Regions from separate parts of the Homo sapiens genome. Here regions 1 and 2 are each linked to region 3. The links are contacts of gene promoters, found by promoter capture Hi-C in blood cells and fetal thymus (Javierre and others, 2016). All regions are on one chromosome and are shown on one strand. The core of a region is centred on a gene start or on the middle of the fragment in contact, and the rest is flanking DNA. Distances in the headings are between cores, read along the strand shown. Region 1 has its middle 12 kb from the start of TAB2-AS1. Region 2 has its middle 30 kb from the start of TAB2-AS1. Region 3 holds the start of PPIL4 (peptidylprolyl isomerase like 4).

Region 1 (3,458 bases), core at 729-3,228, 280 kb before region 3:
GAGTTAGGTTTGGCTTTCAGTACCAGAAAAGTCAAAATGGTAGTGGCTTAACCATGAAGGCACTTGCTCACCAAAAAGAAACCCAGACGTCATCAGTTCAAGGGCTGATGTGGCCCTCCATCCATAGTGCTAAGGGCCCAGGCTCCTTCTCGGTTGTTCTGCTAGTCTTAGCTCCGCATCACGGTCCACTGTGGCTGCTCCACCCCAGCCATCCCATTAGCATTCCAGCAACAAAAAAGAGAAAAAGCACATCCAGAAGTTAGTCACGTGGTCCACATCCAGCTGGGAGAAAAATAACATTCTGAGTGGCCATGAGCCCACCTAAAACTCATGTCCTAGGTAGACTACAGAAGAGGTGAGAATGAATGTTCTAATTCTCATCATTTTCATGAACCACATTTATAGAGAGAGAGCAAGACAGAGACTCAAAGAACAGCTGCATGTGGAAGGAAAATGTTGACATTTATGATGACTGTGAGATCCTTGCATTGGATAAATTCTCGGAGCAATTGGACTTAGTGTAACATCAGTGTAACACCTTAAAATAATAACACGAGGTGTCTTTGCATACATGGAGAACCACTGCCTAGCAAATCATATTTATTTTCTTCCTTTCGTATATGTAACAAAGAAGAGAATTTCTCGACACTTGCTGTGGTGGAGTATGCATTCATTGTGTCTGCAATTTCTTGTATATGACTATCTTTTCTAATTTCTCCACACTAAACATGTGAACATATACTGCTTGTGTAATAAAAACTTGTTTATAAAACATACACACAGTACAGTAGTTGTTTCCAATTCTCTTAGCTACAGAATGAGTCGATCTTTTTCATATCAAATTACTTTTCAAAGTGACCTAGTGGACTAAGCATGAGTCTGGGAGCTGGAAACCCTCCAAATCTTTATCAAAGTACAAGGGGCTCCTGCTGTGGAACCTTTGCTATTCCTTTATCCCCTCTGAATCTTAGGTTCCTTGTGCAATACATAAGTATACTCAGGGATATTGAGTTGAATTGATTAGCATTCTCTGGGACTACAAAGACATAACATTGTTTTTATTTAAGGTTGTTGAAAATTGAGTCTGAGGCATAATACCTAAATAAAAGCTGTTTCATTAGCCTTTGTGCTGCGAATAAAATGATACATCCTTTGAGTAAATTGTAAATAGCAGAGTTTCAACAAGCCAAAGCCTCACAGCCTAGGACCTATTTTCTCCTATTTGACGTGGTAAAAGAAGTTACGCTAGGTTATCAACAACCTAGTGCTATGAATTATGTGTATGTGATAGATACCATTTTTAAATTGAATACTTTTATTAAAAATTCACTATATTATTCTTTTTTCCTTTTTTATATTAAGGTTCAATTTACAGAAGATTAAAGTAGATTTTTACCCTTTTTATTGTGCAGTTCTTCAAGTTTTGAAAAGTGTATAGAGTTGTGTAACCACCACCAGGATGCAATAGTTAAGTAAAACAGTTACATCACCCTAAAAAATTCCTTTTCACCCCTTTGCAATCCACTCCTCTCCCTACCCCAGCCCCTGGCAACCATTGATTGGTTATCTGTCCTTGTAGTTTTACCTTTGCAAGATTATCATGTATCATTCGTTTCATAAGGTGAAATCATACAGGATAAGGTCTTTGCCTTCTTTCACTTGGTATATATGAGATATAGCCATGTTGTTGCATATATCTGTAATTCGTTTCTTTTATTGCTAAGTAGTATTCAACTACATGAATGTATCACATTTTGTTTATCCATTGCCCAACTGAGTGACATTTGGTTGTTTCCAGTTTTTGGTGATTACAAACGAAGTCAATATAAAGATTCACATACAGATTTTTGTGTGGACATAGGTTTTCATTTCACGTGGGTAAATACCTAGGAAAGAAATTGCTGGGTCCTACAGCAAGCATACATTTAACTTTACAAAAAGCTGCCAAACTGTTTTCCAAAGGGCTGTGCCATTTTGCAGCCACATCAGCAATAGATGAGAGTTCCAATTGCTCCAAATTCTTGCTAATGTTTGATAATGTTGATTTTTGTTTATTTTAGCTATTCCAATTCAGTGTTTAATGGTATTTGTGGTCTTGATTTGCATTTCCCTAATTATTAGCGATGTAAAACATCTTTTTATGTGCTTATTTGCCATCCATGTAGCTTCTTTGATCAAATGTTGGTTGAATTCTTCTGCTCATTTTTTAACTGGGCTCTATGGTTTTCCTATTATTGAGTTTTGAGAGTTCTTTACACTAGTTCTTTATCAGATATATGTTTTGCAAGTACTTCTTACCAGTCTGTGGCTTTTCATTTTCTTTACCACTGCATTATTCCTTTTTTTCTTTAGTTCAAGAGATCTATTGTATAGCACGATGACTATAGTTAATAACAGTATATTGAATACTTCAAAACCGCTAAGAGAGTAGATTTTAAGTATTCTCACCACAAAAATAATGATAAGTATATGAGGTCATGAACATGTTAATTAGCTAGATTTAACATTCTACAATCTATACATCTATCAAAACATCATGTTTTACACCATAAATATATATAATTTTTACTTGTCAATTTAAAAAGTAAAAATTAACACATTTTTAAAACAACATTTAGAATCCAGACCTTGCACATTTTCATCACAGATGCACATGGCACCAGTGATGTATTATCCAGAGCTTGGGGCAAGCCTCTCCGACGTACACATGGTCAACTCGCCCAGCTTTGTCTTTCAGTTTCTTCTCTTTTTTGGATCTAGAGGAAGTGTATCACATAAAAGAGTGGTGAAGATGACATAGAGGAGGTACTGTCTTGAAGGATTCTGGTCTTGAAGAGTGAGAAGTATTACTGATCCACTGCTGTTGCAAAAAACTGGGTAGTCAGAGGGTTACGGGGTGGTATAATAATGAAAGCCCTGAAGTTGGAATGAATCTGCTGCCATGTCGCTCTATCTCTCTGCACCTTATTCTTTTTTTTTTCATTTTGACTTAGTTGAAAATACTGTCAAAAATATTACTGTTAGCTACTTGGGAGGCTTAGGTAAGAGGATTGCTTGAGCCCAGGAGTTAGAGGCTGCAGTGAGCTATGATTGCCCCACTGTACTCCAGCCTGAGTGACAGAGTGAGACCTTATCTCTAAAAAATATATATATTTTTTAAAAAAGAATATTATTGACCTGACTGTGTTTGGAAACTCCTGCTCTGTAAAACACACATAAAAATAATGGACAGGGTTCCTGTTCTAGGGATGTAAATAATTTCATTGGTGTGCTAGTACATAACTTAATCTTACCTAAGGGTAAGAAAAAAGCTCTGCTCCATGAGGTCATCCAGAGACCCAGGTTCTTTCTAGCCTGTGGCTCTATTACCCTCGGGCCTATTGTTCTCATCTGTTAGTTAAAGTTAATTCACTCTCACTTTATCTGCATTTCTACCTGAGTGAAAAGAGAAGGCAGAG
Region 2 (3,379 bases), core at 683-3,182, 260 kb before region 3:
GCTGGGGTAGGTGGACAAACTGACGTGCTTGTAAATCTTAAATCAATGGTTTTCAAACTCAGGCATGCATCAGAAGCACCTGGAGGACTTGTTAAAACATGGATTGCTGGCACCTCCCTGGAGTTTCTGATTCATGAGGTCATGGGGCCTGAGAATTTGCATTTCTAGCAAGTTCCCAGGTGATGCATCTACTGCCGCTCTGAGAACGCACGTTGAGAACCACTGCTCTAAAGAATACACTATGAAGTTCAAAACAACTAAATTTTACTTTTATTTCCAGGGAAAGAAAAGGACCACAAATATATTTTATAAATTATTTTAGTGTTTCTTTAAAATAATTTATTCTTTTTTAAAAATGAGGTATACACTACCAAAAAAGTATCTTTTTATCAAGTAAGTAGTTCCAATCAAGTTTTTCAAACTTAATTACACACTGCTATTTAATTGTTATTAACGTCATGGTCTTAAGATTTGCGAGTTAGAAGAAATTCCAGTTGGTATCAATGGACTTCCATATGCAATATATGCACAGAATATGAAAAACTATTTTCAAATATTATTGATATGGTGCACATCTCTATACAAGTTGTTTCTGTAGATCTAAGACAACTATTTTCTTTTTATGGTAATTTAATTTTTCTAGGTTACTGGTAATACTTGATATTATTCTACTTTGCTTCTTCAAACAGGATGAGGAAAGCATTTTATAAATCCCTTTAAAATTAAAGCCAGAGAGCCCATCATCTTTTGAAGCACTTCCACAGGTGCGAACTGGTTCAAACTTTTTGGAGAGAACTTTACCAATATGTATCACAACCCCTAAAAGCTTTCAGATGCTTTGACTCATTAATTCATCTTCCAGAAACCAGTCTGGAGGGAATAATCTGACAGAAGGTTTAAGCACAAAAACGTTCATCACTGCATTATCTATAATAACAAAACCTGTAGACTCAGTTATCACAATAGGGGATTCACTGAGTATCAAGCTATGATTTCAATATACGTTGGCATATTTAGCAGCTCTTAAAAATGAAGAATTATTAGCAGCACGAGAAAATACTTATAATATTAAGGGGAAAAAAGGAGACTTAAAAAATTTAGATATTGGCTGGGCGCGGTAGCTCACACCTGTAATCCCAGCACTTTGGGAGGCTGAGGTGGGTGGATCACCTGAGGTCAGGAGTTCAAGCCCAGCCTGGCCAACATGGCAAAACCCCGTTTCTACTAAAAAATAAAAAAATTAGCCAAGAATGGTGGTAAGCATCTGTAATCTCAGCTACTCGGGAGGCTCAGACAGGAGAATCACTTGAACTCCGGAGGAAGAGTTTGCAGTGAGCCGAGACGGAGCCACTGCACTCCAGCCTGAGTGACAGAGCAAGACTCCATCTCAAAAACGAAACAAAAACAAAAAAATTTAGATATTGTTTACCTTCAACTCTGTAGCCACAAAAAGTGTATACTGAAAAAAGACTGAAAGCAAAACAATATATTGACATGAGTCAACAGGTGAAAGGATTATAGGTGAGTTTTGTTTGCTTGTTTATGTTTTTCTACATTGAGCATGTATTACTTTTATAATAGAGAAACAATAAGCACTGTTTGAAAAACAAATAGATAAAGCTGGAGAAAGCCCTGAACTGTGTACATTTATGCCCGAACTAGAAATGCTCCCAGAAATATTAAATCGGTAGAAATAATAAGCTTCCCCTACACATAAAGTTACAAGGGAATATAACAAGCAAACTTTGTTTTCTGTTTTTTTTTTTAAAAAGAAAGTATTAGAAAATTGTGACTTTTTCAAATGGTCAATGAATTCTGCTTTTTAAAAGTTGTTGTAAAGGCATTTCTTTGAATCCAAACTGCTGATGTATATATTAACTTCCTAGCCAGCAGACAAAACACAGGGCCGCTCTCAGTCAGTTTGTTACTGAACTTGTTTTCAATGTGGTACTGTGCCTAGTTTTATTTTTTGTATGTGTTAAAAATAAAGACATTGTGCATTCTTAAACTGCCACATATCACTATTCCCTGTGGAGAGAAATTCAGGAAAAGGCAGGTTAGTGCTGAACATTTGCTCAAGTGGATTCATAAATAAAAGCCCTAAGCACCTATGCATGGGGCATGTTATTTATAAGGAGGTCTTAAGCATTAATCTCAATATGGCAAAGCTTCACTAAATCGTTTCTCACTATATAGTATTTGGAGCTTTGATGCACTCCTAAAAACGTGAAATGTTTAAATTCGATCATAAAATTATGTTAAGCAAAGAATTAAATTACGCTTATGATTTGTTAAATTTTTAAACACATAAGCAATAAAGAAATAGCATGATAACAGTAAATATTGTTAAACCTTTACTATGGGCCTAGTACTATGCAAACTACCATATGTGGACTATCTTCTAAATGCTCAAGACACTTTACAAAATGGTACTATCATCTCCAGATGACGAACCTGAGGTGCAAATATCCCAGTAAAATGGTCCTTGTGTCACTCAGTCCCCACACCAGGATCTGCTTAGTAGAGTAGATGTTATCATGGTTCCCTCTGCCTGTCCATTCATCTCAATGCAAATTAGCAGAGAACAGAGTTACAAGTGCACAGAGACTATGGGCCTCCTGCCCCATTGTAGACTCTGCACCCCTCCAGGAGACGGCAGCAAGCAGACATTGCTCCTCTGTGGCCCCGTTGTCTGTCACCAGGTCCTTTTTCTCTGGTCCTGCCCATCTCCCAGCCCCCTGAGATGTGAATGATAAGGGAGAGGGATGTGGCACTGCCACAACATCAGGAAAAGGGTCTTTTCCTCTTTGTTCCCCAAAACCTCACCAACCCCAACTACTGCAGAAAAAGTAAGTCCAATTAGTGAAAAGCTTAACTCCAGAACACTTCTCAAATACTGCAATTGTACTATGCATGAAGGAACTTGAAATACACTTTATAAGTACTAAGCAATACTTGATAGCAGGACTTACAGGATGTCTTATAATCATATTCTGCTGAGTCACTTGAACTAACATTAGTTCTTTGTAAGACTGCACACAAATAGCTTTATTTTAAGGCAATGGGTTCCCTGCTTCTGCTCTTGCCCCTCAACACGAGGACCAGAGTGATTTTTTTTAATTTTTAATTTTTTTTTTTTTTTTTTTTTGAGACAGAGTCTCGCTCTGTCTCCCAGGCTGGAGTACAGTGGTGCAATCTCGGCTCACTGCAACCTCCATCGCCTGGGTTCAAGCAATTCTCATGCCTCCACCTCCAGAATAGCTAGGATTACAGGTATACGCTACCATGCCCAGCTAATTTTTTGTATTTTTAGTAGAGATGGGGTTTTGCCATGTTGGAAAGACTGCTCTCAAACTCCTGGCCTCAAGTGATCCACCCG
Region 3 (3,804 bases), core at 233-2,732:
TAAAATGTGTCATGTGGTTTATAAAAGACCTAAGACACAGCAGAGGAACCCTCAGGTAACTCTGCTTAGAAAGGAGGGAGAGCTTCAAAGAAGAGATGATGCTTGATCTGAGATTTAGATAATAAGTAGTAAGTTTGCCAGAAGGACAATAGTGGAGAAGAATATTGTTTAGAAGAAACAGCAAAAGAATGGTAACAATGGTACGGGAGAGTTTGTAGTGTTTTCGCCAGGTGGAGAGGAGGGAGGAATAGCTGCGTGCGAGGGAAAGCGGAGCACGGCAGGAGGTAGTTATTGTACAATATTGCAACTTATTTCACCTTCTTTGATAGGCTCTGCATTCCATGTGGGTAGGACCCTGTTTGTAACTAATCTCTCCTGGTCTCAGTTTCTTCCTGACTCTGATACATTCTCCACACCGCTGCCTATTATCTTCTCAAAACAAGTATGCCATGCCTCAATCCTGCTTTTAAAGTCTTCAAGGACTCTGATCATCAGTAGGGCACACAAGACTATTCACGACTGACCTAGGCGTATCTGACCACACTCGAGTCTACCATTCCACGACTCACACCAGTCCTTCCAGCCACACCAAACTACTTGCCGTTTCCAGAAAATTCCAAACAAAGAAAGTCCAAGCTAAGAAAACCCTCATTCCCATTCATCTTTGAAAGAACTAGTTCAAGTGTTCTATATAGTATTCGCTAGCTTTGCTTCTTCCCACCCCCCACCAAAGAAGCCGCCCTCTTCTGGTTTCCGTGGCAACTTACACATTCTTCTACCATAACACATAGAAAACTAAAATGGGTTCCTGTGTCTACTTCCCCCAGTGGAAAAATCAGACCCTCGGGGGCAAGAAGCCAAGCCCAGGACTTAGCCCAGTGCCTCGAAGGCTCAGTCCACACTCCAGACAACCTCTTCCTCCTCCACCTAAGCGGTATGCCCACACTCGCTGCGCCAAGCACACCCTAACTGCCTTCATCAAGATTTAACCGATTACACACCAAGCAATAGTTCCTATGTTCCTCTCACGAGTAAACACAATAAAGGCACAAAAGCTATGGGTATTGTATGTGCAGCTCGAATCACACACACACACGCCCCACACACACACTCCCAAAGGCAATTAATGACCGCAAGCACCGTCCACCGGACTGGCCAACACAAAATACGGGAGAAGGGCTGCCAAGGCTCAAACGAATTCCCGTCACAAAAACTTTTCTAGCCAAGGCCGGTTAATAAAATAGCCCAGTCGCGGGCACCAGCAGCCCAGAAGCTCGAGCTCTAGCCAATCTCTGCCCTGGACTGCGCAGAGAAGGGAAAGTAGGGAGACAAGCTCGGGGGCCCCGGCGACAGGTGAGTGGGGCTCAAGCCTCACCACGCGGCCGTTCTTCGGTGTACAAGTCGATGACGACGTCGCCTAAAGTGGTCTCCAGTAGAACCGCCATGGCGCCCGCTCCTCCTCCGCTACAAACCCCGGGAGGAGGGGGGTGACAGGCGCAGGCCGACGGCGTCGTCTACGCCACGCGTCACCCTCGGCGCGACCCCTTTTGCGTCATCTCGCCGGCGCCGCCCCCGGTTCCGAGCAGTTCCTTCCGGTCGGCGTGCGGGCGCCGGGCTGCCCAGCTGACTTACGGATCGGGTTGGTCCCGCCCCCGGCGCGGCCGTTTTGAAAATCCTGGTCCGCCCTTGGCGATTTTGGTGGAAGCCTGTCCCTCAGAACGGTCTCAGTATAGTGTTTTGTGCCCCGTTTGTGTCCGTCTCAAGAGCAGAGCGGCCCTCCGCGCGGCCCTTTTATCCACCAGGGGGCGCCCGCGGCGGGATCTTCTCTCCACCTATTTGGGCGGACTCCTCCGGGTTTCCTCGTCAGTCTCCTTTTCGCAAAACAACTTTGGGCCTCTACTAGGGGTTTCCGATTCTAAGAACTAACATTTTGTTTTGTTTTCTGTTTTGAGACAGGGTCTCGCTCTGTTGCCCAGGCTGGAGTGCAGTGGCGCGATGTCGGCTCACTGCAACCTCCACCTCCCGGGCTCCAGCGATTTTCCTGTCTCAGCCTCCCAAGTGACCACAGGCGCGCGCCACCACGCCCGGCTAATTTTGTTCTTTTATTTTTTGTAGAGATGGCGGTCGGGGGAGGTGGTCTCACTATGTTGCTCAGACTGGTCTCAAACTCCTGAGCTCAAGGAGTTCGAACTCTTCCCGCCTTGGCCTCCCGAAGTGCTGAGATTACTGGCGTGAGCCACTGCGCCTGGCCAAAACTAACATTTTGCCATGCAAGTTTATTCCCCAGACACTCTTCTGGGCAAGCCTGTCACTCTTTCTTATGACATTTTACACATAATCTCCAATAACTTCACATCTGACGAAAAGCCAAAGCTTTTTTTTTTTTTTTTTTTTTTGAGACGGAGTCTCGCTCTGTCGCCCAGTCTAGAGTGCAGTGGCGCGATCTCGGCTCACTGCAAGCTCCGCCTCCCGGGTTCACCCCATTCTCCTGCCTCCGCCTCCCGAGTTGCTGGGGCTACAGGTGTCCGCCATCACGCCCGGCTAATTTTTTGTGTTTTTAGTAGAGACCGGGTTTCACCGTGTTAGCCAGGATGGTCTCGACCTCCTGACCTCGTGGATCCGCCCGCCTCCGCCTCCCAAAGTGCTGGGATTACAGGCTTGAGCCACCGCACCTGGCGGAAAAGCCAGAGCTTTTATAATGATTTACAAGATCCTCTCCTACCCCATCCTACGCCATCTTCTTATTCCTCTGAAGCCACAGTAGACAGTTTGCTATTCCCTGAACACTGCTGACATACTCCTGCCCCATGGCCTTTTCACTTGCCTTGGTTGAGGGACCTCTTCCTCCAGTTATTTGTATGGCTCCCATTCACCTCCTTCAGGCGCTTTGGCGTCGGTCACCCTGTCAGTGAGGCCCTCCATGGCTGCCATAATTAAAATTAACCCCACAGACACTTCTTTTTCTCCATATAGCTTTTTCTCCAGAGTACATTTTACAATCTAACATGCTATTTACGAATTTGTTTGTTTGTTTATTGTTACTAGAATGTGTGTTCCAGGATATTCCATCTTGTCTGTTTTGTTTAAAGCTATATCCCTAATGCGTATGACAGCCTGGTACACAATGTGCAAATAAATGTTTGTTGAATGAATAAATATGGTTTTTCGGTTTGGGTTTTTTTTTTTTTTTTTGAGACGGAGTCTCGATCTGTTGCCCAGGCTTGAGTGCAGTGGTGCGATTTCAGGTCACTACAACCTCCGCCTCCTGGGTTCAAGCGATTCTCCTGCCTCAGCCTCCCCAGTAGCTGGGGCTACAGGTGCCCGCCACAGCGACTGCCACCACAATATTCATGGCTGGGCGTGGTGGCTCATGCCTGTAATCCCAGCACTTTGGGAGGCCGAGGTGGGCGGATCACCTGAGGTCAGGAATTTGAGACCAGCCGGGCCCATCATGGTGAAACCCCGTCTCTAATAAAAAATACAAAAAAAAAAAAAAAAACTAGCTGGGTGTGGTAGCGCATGCCTGTAATCCCAGCTACCCAGGAGGCTGAGGCAGGAGAACTGCTTGAACACGGAAGGTGGAGGTTGCAGTGAGCCGGGATTGCGCCACTGCACTCCAGCCTGGGTGACAGAGCGAGACTCCGTCTCGAGGAAAAAAAAAAAAAAGAAAGTGCTCCCATACCATGTTCCATTTATGCCTGATATGTGTTTAAGGGTTAAAAGTAAAGCCAACAAAGGGAATCCTAAGACTGTGAGTTCTGGGTCATTGTAAGGTTCCTCAGTGCTGTTGAACTGAGCAAACCA

The links. Contacts are between HindIII fragments. The CHiCAGO score rates a contact against its expected background, and 5 or more counts as called.
Region 1: a fragment that was not itself captured here is called in contact with the fragment with the promoter of PPIL4 in region 3 in 2 of 17 cell types (neutrophils and naive CD4 T cells); the score reaches 9.8 in neutrophils.
Region 2: a fragment that was not itself captured here is called in contact with the fragment with the promoter of PPIL4 in region 3 in 1 of 17 cell types (non-activated CD4 T cells); the score reaches 5.7 in non-activated CD4 T cells.

Annotation. Positions count from the first base shown.
Region 1 is chr6:149,268,071-149,271,528 of GRCh38, forward strand. It overlaps a transcript of TAB2 not described here. Among named protein-coding and RNA genes, the nearest start is that of TAB2-AS1, 12 kb to the left of the region's middle. RefSeq lists an enhancer at 3,279-3,378. The HindIII fragment of the contact is 9,013 bases long and covers 1-3,458 here.
Region 2 is chr6:149,285,728-149,289,106 of GRCh38, forward strand. It overlaps a transcript of TAB2 not described here. Among named protein-coding and RNA genes, the nearest start is that of TAB2-AS1, 30 kb to the left of the region's middle. The HindIII fragment of the contact is 467 bases long and covers 1,700-2,166 here.
Region 3 is chr6:149,544,561-149,548,364 of GRCh38, forward strand. It overlaps PPIL4 (peptidylprolyl isomerase like 4), which reads right to left and starts at 1,483. Exons shown (of 13, transcript NM_139126.4): 1 at 1,376-1,483. The coding sequence starts at 1,445. RefSeq lists enhancers at 1,373-1,672, 2,376-3,052. The HindIII fragment of the contact is 2,652 bases long and covers 1-2,371 here.